Regions from separate parts of the Homo sapiens genome. Here regions 1, 2 and 3 are each linked to region 4. The links are contacts of gene promoters, found by promoter capture Hi-C in human tissues and cell types (Jung and others, 2019). All regions are on one chromosome and are shown on one strand. Each heading gives the region's core, a stretch centred on a gene start or on the middle of the fragment in contact. The rest is flanking DNA. Distances are from core to core; before and after follow the strand shown. Region 1 has its middle 17 kb from the start of SPATA7. Region 2 overlaps SPATA7 (spermatogenesis associated 7). Region 3 overlaps PTPN21 (protein tyrosine phosphatase non-receptor type 21). Region 4 holds the start of GPR65 (G protein-coupled receptor 65).

Evidence for each region. Contacts are between HindIII fragments. The study calls those that stand out against the background at their distance.
Region 1: a contact is called between a fragment that was not itself captured here and the fragment with the promoter of GPR65 in region 4, in 4 of the 25 tissues and cell types used here (aorta, bladder, dorsolateral prefrontal cortex and 1 more).
Region 2: a contact is called between a fragment that was not itself captured here and the fragment with the promoter of GPR65 in region 4, in 2 of the 25 tissues and cell types used here (H1 embryonic stem cells and dorsolateral prefrontal cortex).
Region 3: a contact is called between a fragment that was not itself captured here and the fragment with the promoter of GPR65 in region 4, in 1 of the 25 tissues and cell types used here (mesenchymal stem cells).

Annotation. Positions count from the first base shown.
Region 1 is chr14:88,367,619-88,370,586 of GRCh38, reverse strand. No RefSeq gene overlaps it. Among named protein-coding and RNA genes, the nearest start is that of SPATA7, 17 kb to the left of the region's middle. The HindIII fragment of the contact is 5,913 bases long and covers 1-2,968 here.
Region 2 is chr14:88,410,250-88,413,417 of GRCh38, reverse strand. The region is part of intron 4 of SPATA7 (spermatogenesis associated 7); the gene reads right to left. Among named protein-coding and RNA genes, the nearest start is that of SPATA7, 26 kb to the right of the region's middle. The HindIII fragment of the contact is 4,550 bases long and covers 1-3,168 here.
Region 3 is chr14:88,467,129-88,470,454 of GRCh38, reverse strand. It overlaps PTPN21 (protein tyrosine phosphatase non-receptor type 21), which reads left to right. Exons shown (of 19, transcript NM_007039.4): 16 at 405-533; 17 at 722-956; 18 at 1,379-1,539; 19 at 2,190-3,326. The coding sequence ends at 2,318. It also overlaps a transcript of SPATA7 not described here. Among named protein-coding and RNA genes, the nearest start is that of SPATA7, 83 kb to the right of the region's middle. The HindIII fragment of the contact is 3,373 bases long and covers 1-3,295 here.
Region 4 is chr14:88,003,052-88,006,397 of GRCh38, reverse strand. It overlaps GPR65 (G protein-coupled receptor 65), which reads right to left and starts at 1,263. Exons shown (of 2, transcript NM_003608.4): 1 at 1,176-1,263. RefSeq lists an enhancer at 679-848. The HindIII fragment of the contact is 6,432 bases long and covers 1-3,346 here.

The sequences.
Region 1 (2,968 bases), core at 132-2,631, 360 kb before region 4:
GGAAGGTGTCTCTCTGTCAGGAGGCACTAGGATTAGGGACCCACTTGAGAAGGCAGTCTGTCCCTTAGCAGAGCTCAAGTGCTGTGCTGGGAGATCTGCTGCTCGCTTCAGAGCTGGCAGACAGGAATGTTGAAGTCTGTTGAAGCTGTGCCCACAACCGCCTCTTCCCTCAGTTGCTCTGTCCCAGGGAGATGGGAGTTTTATCTATAAGCCCCTGACTGAGGCTGCTGCCTTTTGTTCAGAGATGCCTTATCCAGAGAGGAGGAATCCAGAGAGGCAGTCTGCTGCAGTGGCTTTTTGGCATTGTGGTGGGCTCTGCCCAGTCCGAACTTCCTGGCAGCTTTGTTTACACTGTGAGGGGCAAACCACCTACTTAAGCCTCAGTAATGGCAGATGCCCCTCCCCTCATCAAGCTGGAGCATCCCAGGTCGACTTTAGACTGCTGTGCTGGCAGGGAGAATTTCAAGCCAGTGGATCTTAGCTTGTTGGGCTCTGTAGGATGGGATATGCTGAGCAAGACCACTTGCCTCCCTGGCTTCAGCCCCTTTTCCAGAGGAGTGAACGGTTCTGTCTCGCTGGCATTCCAGGCACCACTGCGGTACAAAAACAAAACAAAACAAACAAAAAAAAAAACTCCTGCAGCTAGCTCAGTGTCTGCCCAAATGGCCACCCAGTTTTGTGCTTGAAACCCAGGGCCCTGGTGGTATAGGCACCCAAGGGAATCTCCTGGTCTGTGGGTTGTGAAGACCATGGGAAAAGCGTTGTATCTGGGCTTGATAGCACTGTCCCTCACAGCAGAGTCCCTCATGGCTTCCCTTGGTCAGGGGAGGAAGTTCTCCAACCTCTTGTGCTCCCTGGATGAGGCAATGCCCCATCTTTCTTCTGCTTGCTCTCTGTGGGCTGCACCCACAGTCTAACCAGTTCCAATGAGATGAACTGGGTACTTCAGTTGGAAATGCAGAAATCACCCACCTTCTGCATTGGTCTGGCTGGAAGCTGCAGACTGGAGCTGTTCCTATTTGGCCATCTTGCCAATCATCTGTCTAGTACTTACAGGCTAATTTTTGCAAGTCAATATTACAATAGCTTATAAATACCAATTACAATAGCTACAAATAAAATACAATATCTAGCAATTAATTTATCCAAAGAACTGAAAGATCTCTGTAGTGAAAACTATAAAAGAAATTGATGAAAGAAATTGAGGAGGACATGAGAAAATGAAAAGATATTCCATGTTCATGGATTGGAAAAATTGATGTTGTTAAAATGTCTATACTACCGAAAACAATCTACAGATTCAATACAATCTCTATCAAAATACCAATGACATTCTTCACATAAATGAAAAAACGATCCTAAAATGTATATGCAACCACAAAAGACCCAGAATAGCCAGAGCTATCCTAAGCAAAAAGAGCAAAACTGGAGCAATCATATAATCTGACTTCAAATTATACTACAGAGCTATAGTAACCAAAATAGCATGATTCTGGCATAAAAACAGACACATAGACTGGTGGAACAGAATGAAGAGCCCAGAAATAAATCCATACGTTTATGCTAACTCATTTTCAACAAAGGTTTCAAGAACACGCATTGGGAAATTGACAGTCTCTTCAATAAATGGTTCTGGGAAAACAGGTTATCCATATGCAGAAACTAAACATCTATCTCTCACCATATAACAAAATCAAGTCAAAATGCATTTAAGTAATAAATCTAACACCTCAAACTATGAAACTACTACAAGAAAACATTGGGGAAACACCAGGACATTGGTCTGGGCAAAGACTTTTTGGGCAATACCCCATTAGCACAGGCAACCAAAGCAAATATAGACAAATGGGATTACATCAAGTTATAAAGCTTCTGCACAGCAAAGGAAAAAATAAAGTGAAGAGACAACCCACAGAATGGGAGAAAAGATTTGCACACTATTCCTCTGACAACGGATTAACAACTAGAATATCTAAGGAGTTCAAACAACTCAATAAGAAAGAAAAATCTAATAAACTAATTAAAAAGTGTGCAGAATATCTGAATAGGCATTTCTCAAAAGAAGACATACAAATGGCAAACAGGTATATGAAAGTATACTCTGGGCAAAGATTTCATCAAAGACACTAGAAGCAATTGCAACAAAAGCAAAAATTGACAAAAGTAATCTAATTAAAGAGCTTCTGCACAGCAAAAGAAATTATCAACAGGGTAAACAAGCAACCTACAGAATGACAGGAAATTTTTGCAAACTATGCATCTGACAAAGATCTAGTATTCAGCATCTATTAGAAATTTAAACAAATTTACAAGAAAAAAACAAAGAACCTCATTAAAAAGTGGGCAAAAGACATGAACAGATACTTCTCAAAAGAAGGCATTCATGTGGTCAACAAGCATATGAAAAAAATCTCAACATCACTGATCATTAGAGAAATGCAAATCAATTCAAAACCACAATGAGATAACATCTCACACCAGTCAGAATGGTGATTATTAGAAAGTCAAAAAATAACAGATGCCAGTGAGGTTGTAGAGAAAAAGGAACACTTGTACACTGTTGGTGGGAGTGTAAATGAGTTCAACCATTCTGGAAGACAGTGTGGAGATTCCTCAAAGATCTAAAGTCAGAAACACCATTCAACCCAGCAATATCATTACTAGGTATATACCCAAAGGAATATAAGTCATTCTATTATAAAGATACATGCATGCATATGTTTATTGCAGCACTATTCATGATAGCAAAGAGATGGAATCAACCCAAATGCCTATCAGTGATAGACTGTATAAAGAATGTGGACATGTACACCATGGAATACTATGCAGCCATAAAAAAGAACAAGATGATGTCGTTTGTAGGGACATAGATGGAGCTAGAGGCCATTATCCTTAGCAAACTAATGCAAGAACAGAAAAACAAATATCACATCTTCTCACTTATAAGTAGGAGCTAAATGATAACACA
Region 2 (3,168 bases), core at 19-2,518, 410 kb before region 4:
CCAGTAAAGTTTTAGGACACAAAATCAATGTGCAAAAATCAGTAGCATTTCTATACACCAATGATATTCAAGCTGAGAGCCAAATCAAGAACACAATCTCATTTACAATAGTTACACACACACAAAATAAAATACCTAGGAAAATATCTAAGGAGGTGAAGGATATCTAAAAGAATTACAAAATACTGCTGAAAGAAATCAGAGCTGACACACACAAACGGAAAAACATTCCATGTTCGTGGATTGGAAGAGTCAATATCATTAAAATGTCCATACTGCCCAAAGCAATCTAGAGATTTAGCACTATTCCTATCAAACTACTCACATCATTTTTCACAGAAATTGAAAATACTATTCTAAAATTTATATGGAACCAAAAAAGAGCAGTCCTAAGCAAAAAGAACAAAACTGGAGGCATCACATTACCCGACTTCAAACTACACTACAAGGCTACAAGATGGATTAAAGATTTAAATGTAAGACCTAAAACTATAAAAATTCTATAAGAAAACCTAGGATATACTCTGCTGGACATTGGCCTTGGCAAAGAATTTGTGACCAAGTCCTCAAAAGCAATTGCAACAAAAACAAAAATTGACAAGTGAGACCTAATTAAATTAAAAAGCTTGTGCAATGCAAAAGAAACTATCAACAGAGTAAACAGACAACCAACAGAATGGGAGAATATATTTGTAAACTATGCATCTGACAAAAAACTAATATCAAGAATTGTGATGGCTAATACTGAATGTCAACTTGATTGGATTGAAGGATGCAAAGTATTGGTACTGGGTATATCTGTGAGGGTGCTGACAAAGAAGATTAACATTTGAGTCAGTGGGTTGGGGAAGGCAGACCCACCCTTAATCTGGGTGGGCACCATCTAATCAGCTGCGAGCGAACATAAAGCAGGCAGAAAAACGTGAAGGGTTGAGGCTGGCCTACTCTCACAGCCTACATCTTCCTCCTGTGCTGGATGCTTCCTGCCCTCAAACATCGGACTCCAAATTCTTCAGTTGTGGAACTCAGACTGGCTCTCCTTGCTCCTCAGCCTGCAGACGGCCTATTGTGGGACCTTGTGATCATGTGAGTTAATACTTAATAAACTCCCCTTTATATATATATTTCATTAGTTCTGTCCCTCTAGAGAACCCTAATACAAGAATCTATGAGGAACTTAAAAAAAAAAAAAAAAGCAAGAAGAAAAACAAATAACCCCATTAAAAAGTGAGAAAAGGACATAGACACTTATCAAAAGAAGACATAAAAGCAGCCAACAAATAAAAAAGTACTCAACATCACTAATCATCAGAGAAATGCAAATAAAATCACAATGAGATACTATTTCATACCAGCCAGAATGGCTATTACTAAGAAGTCAAAAAATAGTAGATGTGGCAAGGTTGCGGGGAAAAAGGAATTACACACTGTTCTTGGGAATGTGAGTTCAGCCACTGAGGAAAGCTGAAGACTGAGCCACTGAGGAAAGTTTGAAGACTTCTCAAATAACTAAAAATAGACCTACCATTCAACCCAGCAATCCCATTACCATGTATAAACCCCCCCCAAAAAATCATTCTACCAAAAAGACACATGCCCTCATATCCAACACAGCACTATCCACAATAGCAAAGATATGGAACCAACCTGGGTGTCCATTAATGGTGAATTGGATAAAGAAAATGTGGTACATATACAGGATGAAATACTGTATATGTGCAGCCCACGGAGGGTGAGCTGAAGCAGGGTGTGGTGTTGCCTCACCCAGGAAGCGCAAGGGGTAGGGGAACTCCTTCCCCTAGCCAAGGGAAGCCATGAGGGACTATCCTGTGAGGAACGGTGTGCACTCTGGCCCAGATACTATGCTTTACCCATGGTCTTTGCAACCCACGGACCAGGAGATTCCCTCAGGTGCCTACACCACCAAGGCCCTGGGTTTCAAGCACAAAACTGGGTGGCTGTTTGGGCAGACACTGAGCTAGCTATAGGAGTTTTTTTCCATACCCCAGTGGCAACTGGAATGCCAGTGAGGCAGAACCATTCACTCCCCTGGAAAGGGGTCTGAAGCCAGGGAGGCGAATGGTCTAGCTCAGCATATTCCACCCCATAGAACCCAGCTAGCTAAGATCCACTGGCGTGAAATTCTCCCTGCCAGCACAGCAGTCTGAAGTTGACCTGGGACTCTAGAGCTTGGTGGGGGGAGGGGCATCCACCTTATTGAGGCTTGAGTAGGTGGTTTTTCCCTCACAGTGTAAACAAAGCCGCCAGGAAGTTCAGACTGGGCGGAGCCCACCACAGCGCCACAAGGCCACTGTAGCCAGACTGCCTCTCTAGATTCCTCCTCTCTGGGCAGGGCATCTCTGAAAGAAAGGCAGCAGCCTCCCTCAGGGGCTTATAGATAAAACTCCCTGGGACAGAGCACCTGGGAGAAGGGGTGGCTGTGGGCACAGCTTCAGCAGACTTAAATGTTCCTGCCTGCCAGCTCTGAAGAGAGCAGCGGATCTCCCAGCCAGTGCTTGAGCTCTGCTAAGGGACAGACTGCCTCCTCAGGTGGGTCCCTGACCCCCATGCCTCCCAGCAGGGGTTGACAGACACCTCATACAGGAGAGCTCCGGCTGGCATATGGCGGGTGCCCCTCTGGGACGAAGCTTCCTGAAGGAAAAACAGGCAGCAATCTTTGCTGTTCTGCAGCCTCCGCTGGTGATACCTAGGCAAACAGGGTCTGGAGTGGACCTCCAGCAAACTACGGCAGACCTGCAGCAGAGAAGCCTGACTGTTAGAAGGAAAACTAACAAACAGAAAGGAATAGCATCAACATCAACAAAAAGGACATCCACACAGAGACCCCATCCAAAGATCACCAACAGCAAAGACCAAAAGTAGATAAATCCACGAAGATGAGGAAAAAACAGTGCAAAAAGGTTGAAAATTCCAAAAACCAGAACGCCTCTTCTCCTCCAAAGGATCACAACTCCTCACCAGCAAGGGAACAAAAAACGCAGGGGTTGCAATCCTAGTCTCTGAAAAAAACAGACTTTAAACCAACAAAGATAAAAAAAAGACAAAGAAGGGCATTACATAATGGTAAAGGGATCAATGCAACAAGAAGAGCTAACTATCCTAAATACATATGCACCCAATACAGGAGCACCCAGGTTCATAAACCAA
Region 3 (3,326 bases), core at 360-2,859, 460 kb before region 4:
GAAGGTTTTTTTTAAAGAAGAGGCACCATGTCTGCAATAACAGCTACTTATTGAGTTATGTGCCAGGTACCATAGATACTGACTCAGTCCTCACAATGACCCTATGACGGTAGGCAGTATCTTTATTGTATAAATGAGAACTGACATTCAGCAAGGTTAAACAGGTTGCATAGATATTATGTATATTCACAGTACCTAAGTTTATAAAAATGTCAGTAATGCAAATTGTATTCACAAGGGAAAAGATGAAAAGTCTTTCCTTATTCTGCTGAATAATCCAGTTTACTACTTTTTTACTTTTTACTTTTTTAAAAAAACTTTTTTAGTACTACCATGAATGCATGCATACATACCTATGTATATTATACCCACACATCAATTTTTTTAACCTTTTCTAATCCCAGGTCTCTGTCAGTGGAATCGAATGGGATTATATTGCCACACAGGGACCATTACAGAATACCTGTCAAGATTTTTGGCAGATGGTATGGGAACAGGGAATTGCAATTATAGCAATGGTGACAGCAGAAGAGGTAGGTACTTATTTCTCTTAAGTGATTTTCTCAGCCTCTGAAGAACAGTTAATGTTAATCATCTGGAATCCTGACCTGTGGAGAAAAAGGCAGGGTAGGGTTGTGGTTCTGTTTCAGATGTGCCGTCTATGTGAGAAAGGCATCCATTGCCGGATCTCGAGTCATTTAACCATGCTCATCTTTAACAGGAGGGTGGAAGGGAGAAGAGCTTTAGGTACTGGCCACGACTTGGTTCCAGGCACAACACTGTCACCTATGGAAGGTTTAAGATCACGACCCGGTTCCGCACAGACTCTGGCTGCTATGCCACCACAGGCCTGAAGATGAAGCACCTCCTTACTGGGCAAGAGAGGACCGTCTGGCACCTCCAATACACAGACTGGCCTGAACATGGCTGTCCAGAAGACCTCAAGGGATTTTTATGTGAGTGACTTTAACTTTGTTCCGAGGACAGCTGCCTCTGGAGGTGTTAAACAGAGAGGAACATTTATGTTTCCGAAATATTTCCTTTATGTTATCTCATATAAGCTTCGGACTTGTTTTAACATAAAGAATACAAGTGTTTTGGGGAGGGTTAACGAGGTTTATAAATTATGATTTGGTAGTGAGTAGAATGCCACAGCTGACTCAGTATCTCCGTCATTTCATTTTGTAGATCAGAAAGTGGACAGAGGTAGTGACTTGCTCAGGGTCACACTGTCCCTTTGTGGTTGGGTTTGGTTCACTGGCACCCAGTGCTCTTTATCTGCAGTCCTCTTAATCAGTGGAGAGAATATGAAGATTGAGTCAACAATGTGATACGCCTTGATCCTTGAGTACTTTTCTATTTCATTGATTTTCCACAGCATATCTTGAAGAGATCCAGTCTGTTCGACGCCATACAAATAGCACAAGTGATCCCCAAAGCCCCAACCCTCCGTTGTTGGTCCACTGCAGTGCTGGGGTAGGAAGGACTGGCGTGGTGATTTTGTCGGAGATCATGATCGCCTGCCTGGAACACAATGAGGTGATGGCGCTTATGATCACCTGGCCTTTTTGGGTGGAAATGAGGCTGGGGAAGAGAGGGACATAGTGACTTAATAGCTCTTTTTGCGCACATTTCCTTGGACTGTGGTGGCCTCAAGATGTTACTAATGTTCCCTGCAAAAGGCTGTGTCTTCTTGGAGAGTCTCAGTACCAATTAGCATATTAAAGACTAAGAAGTCATACGATAAATAAAGCTGTTTAATTTTGTTTTACTTGCCCAGGGTTTTTCAAATTTGAGCTCAGAATTCTTTTTCTGTTTACATTTCAAGGATGATTCATGCTGCCCAGAGCCCTTGAGGGAAATAGCTAGATACTGATAGCACTTAGCACACTATGTTTTTGTATAATTTTGGTATTTAGTGAGACATGGTAATTATGTCCAACCATACAAAGTCAGTGAGCTACACCTGGGGAATGTTGAAGAAATAGTCTGCATGGACATTCTATTTATAGCTAAAACTAATCAGAAAATCAGAAGTAGGCAATCATGGCTTATTTCTAGAAGACGCTAAGGTGGAAAAGAGACTGTCCATCTCCCAACCAGGTTTCTGCCAGGACACTCGTGTCCTCCCATCCTTTCTGTCTCCCCAGGGGAACACATTATCTTCATTACCGTTTCTCTCAACCTAGGTGCTGGACATCCCGAGAGTGCTGGACATGCTGAGGCAACAGAGAATGATGCTGGTGCAGACTCTCTGCCAGTACACATTTGTGTACAGAGTCCTCATCCAGTTCCTGAAAAGCTCCAGGCTCATCTAAGCTCCCACAATTTCTTACGGGGCCAGTCATGTGAAGCGTTTACAGCTTAAAAAAAAAGCGCTTGCCTAACTCATACTTTCCCGTTGACACTTGATCCACGCAGCGTGGCACTGGGACGTAAGTGGCGCAGTCTGAATGGCGGCACGCTGAAGGAAACGTGCGAAGCACAGGCTGAAGAGGGGTTTCTAACCTGGGAAAGGTGCTCAAGGAGGACTTGGTTTCAAGGGCCTTGCCCTGCCCCGGTCTGTCCGGTTTGCAGTACTTGCACACATTTTGGAGATTGTATTTTCTAGACAATTCTCTATTTTACTGAAGCTATGCTGGGCAATTCTGGCAATCATTAAAGTGCATAGATTTCTATCTTAAACTAATTTTTGATAATGGAGTTTTTATTTTATGACAAATATTTAGGGATTTTTCTAGTGAGAAACAACTTTGTGTAAGGATGATCCACAGATATGAGTTGCTCCTATATAACTTTGTATTTAAAAATCATGTTATTATCTTTTGTTATTTTTTAAAAACCTTGGGTACTTAATAATGGTTTAGTTGCCAAACTGAAAACTATACTGAGAATCTGTGTTATTTTGAAACATCAAAAGGATTTTTCTATCCAGAACATTTTTTATCCTAAAAATTCTATATAGTTGTACCTTCTGTTTTTCAAATGAGAGCTCAATTCATTTAGATACTGAAATGAGTCAGTTAATGTAAAGTTGAGGATGAAGGCACATTATTTAAAATGTAAGAGAATAAGCATTATTTTTTCAGTATTATTCATAGATCTAAATGAATTTGATTTTATTGGTTGAAAATGAAGTGAAAAACAATTGCCTAGGGTGGTTTTAAGCACTTTTTTGTTAAAAACAAATCTGAGTTTTAATATATGTGTTGCTTTGTAGATGACACAATAACAATGGGCGCTGAGAAGCGTTTTGGGAGAGATTAAGGACTAAGAGTATGTAAGATGACTAGGACAAGAGTAGGTGGAGTGTGATGGTAAATGCA
Region 4 (3,346 bases), core at 14-2,513:
CTCTGGGCCCATTGGTGTTTCTTCACCTCTCTAAGTTCCAGTTTTCACATGTGTAAGTTAGTACCCAGTTTCTAAGATTGTTGTGAGGGTTAAATGAAACGACATATGAAGCAAAGTTCCTAGCACATGGGAGGCATTCACTGTACGTTAGCTGGTAATATTGTTTTAATGACATTGGTAGTCTGCACCAATCTTTGTGCTGTCCCCTACATTTTCTGAAAAGAAATCATCTTTAGTCATCTAGCCACAGCATAGCAGAAAAGCTGGAGGTGCTCAGAGTGTAATTTATATGGTAACACTTCACGTATAATACTAGGCTCTGCAGATAATAGTTGTTCATTTAATTTGGGTGGATCTGAGATTTTAGTGGAATACTGTATATAATTCCTATTACAGTATTCACATATCTTTTCAGATATTATTTTGCCTCCTTTAATCAAATTTTGAGAAAATTGTTTTTAGAACAAGCACTGAGAAATTTTGGTGAGTTTTTAATTTTTTAATTTTTACCAGATGTCAAAAAAGACAATCTACAGTATATTAAAGTATATCTATTCTTGAACAGATCTAAAAATAGTACAAATCATTGATGACGATGACCAAAAGTACAATATTTTCCTACAGTGTTATAGAAAATGCTTGCTTTCATCTATCAGTTTAATAGTTACTTATTAAGACTCTACTATATATTTCAGGCACTGTGGTAGTCACTTATTAACTAATAATTATTACTTGACATTTATTAATACTGGAAATATTCTTTCCTAATATCACATTTTTTTCTGATGGATATAAAAAGTATTTACTGGACCATTGTACAGATGAGGGATTGGTGCCAGATAGCTCTAAAGCCAGGGGCTGGTAGGCTTCTTCCTAATACTGAATGAAGTTTGCCAAAGCACTGTTTCCTGAAAAGAAAATAAAGTATGAACAACCCCCTTTTTCTATATCTATGGTTTTGCCTAATTAGTTCTAAATTTAAAGTTTGGCCCTTTACCACTGCTCAAAGTAGAGGAAACCATGTGTCTTCCTCATTTCTTTCTCTCTTATCATGCTTTGCATTACCACATTTATACAGCCTAAACCAGGAAGAATGTTGCGAACATCACTGACAATTATGCCAAAGCATGTTATCTACTTTAAAATATTATTTTATTTTTTAATCTTATACTTACCCATATTTCTTCCGGTGATGTGTTTGTTGACTGAGGAGCTTGATAAATCTGTGCCTGCATCAAGTCAAGAAGAGAAACCAACACTGCTGAGGGGACAGGAAATTGCACTCATATTTCAGCACAAACCAATGAGGAAGCAGCATCTCAATGAGAAGGGTGTGCGTTATCCAAGTTTGAACAAAAAAAGTCTCTTAAATACTTTTAAAGATGTTTTTATTTATTGTTTACTGTACTGTAATTTTTATAACTCACTTGTCTCATTGCATCTTAATTACAAGTATGTACTGATATTATATTATATGCCCTTTACTTAATGGAATATATGTTAAATATTTTATTTATTTCTTTGTTCATTCATTCATTCATTCATTCATTCACTCATCATGCCAGCAGTGTGCGGGGAGATGTATACGAACTGGCTATCAACCAAAAGCAGCTTTTTTTACCTAGTAAAGGAGAAAGACATGTTTAATAATGATTGTAATGCAATGGCAAAATGAAGAAGTACTTCAAGAGGGGTACAGATAAAATAGAATGAACCATTTGGATGTGTGAGATAGGGGAGGATATTGTAGGTAGATTCAGGGTGATAAAGTTCCTGGGACAAAAACAGAAAAGGGAGAATTGAGGCTGAGGGGTTTAATGATGGATATTGTGCTGCTTAAGGCAGGGGTTAAGGTAGCCAACCTCATACCGTCTTTCTTTTCTTTTTTTTTTTGAGAGACTAATGGGATTAGATATATAGTATTTGATTGTAGAACTATTTTCTCCTTTGATTCTCTCCTCTTGGAAACAGAGATGGCTAAAAACCAGTTGAATTAACTAGCTGAGACAAATAATTTTATGAAACTTGAAAATTTTATTTAAGACTTACATTGTTATTATAAAAACTCTTGTACTTTAGCAAGTTAAAGTTAATGCCAAATCTATAAGTGGTTTAATATGAAGTGAAATTAGCTCCTATAACTTTCTTACTATTGATATATAAAAAAGTCAGAAATATCACTTTTGAATCTTGCCCTCATAAACTTTTATTAGAAATGAAGGGAAAATATTATTTGAAAGAACAGAATTTATTTGGGATGAAAACATTTGACTTAATTTTAAAGATGTAATCAGGACATTTTGAATCTGTGTTTGTTAAAGGACATTAAGGGTTGTTGCTGGTGTTTTTTTTTTGTTGTTTTTTTCTCCCTACCCAGAGATAGAAAAGATTAGCCTGTATATAAGCAAGGCTTTCCATATTGAAGTTGATCAGGGTATATCAGGAATGTAAAGATTTTCAATACTTCCGTTGTAGGTCTTTCTTTGAGAATAATAAAACTAATACCTTACATTTATAAAGCACAGGATAGTTTATAAAGTAATTTAGCATATAGTAAATTATAAATCAATATATTGTTACTGAAATAATAAAAATTAAGTATAAAGTAAAAAATTAACAATAAATGTCTTGAAGTTTTACAAAAATGAAAAGTAACGATTTCAGTTTACTTGTGACTGTAATTCAAAGTTCTCATTTTTGCTTGGTTTCGTACATCTGCTTATCTGTGGTTTCTATACATGATATATCTTTTTTTAAGTTCGGGGTACAAGTGCATTGTTACGTAGGTATTTCATTACTCTGATGATCTCTTACTTTATCTGAATAGACTATACTTCTGCTTTTAGGGAAAGGGTATTTTCATGTCCATATCTAATATTCATGTATTTTGCTTTTCAAAAGAAAAAGATTATCATTAAGAAACATAAGAAACACAAACTTTCACTTCTGATTAAAGAGGAGAAAAAGCTGGAGCTGACCTATGCTAAAACCTTGCCAACTCTACACAATAAGAAATTTACCAGCTTTTAAGAAATTTGCTTCTTAATATGGAAAATATGGCAATACTGTATTTTCAACTATAGGGCTATCTTTTATAATGAACGGTTAGAAATTTTAAATCATTGAGTCACTGTGACATTTTAACAACATAACAATGAGATAAAGACAATTAGTAGTTATTCAGAACACTGCCTTAACGGGGTTGGCATTTCTGACCAGTCAATTATTTGGTTTTCTGTGGTCACAATCTGGGGACCCAACACTGGCCAGTTGGGCTACTCATGGGGTAATGGGGAGGAGATTGTGGATCTACCTGGTTCCAACTTCTCCATTGGGCAGACAGTGC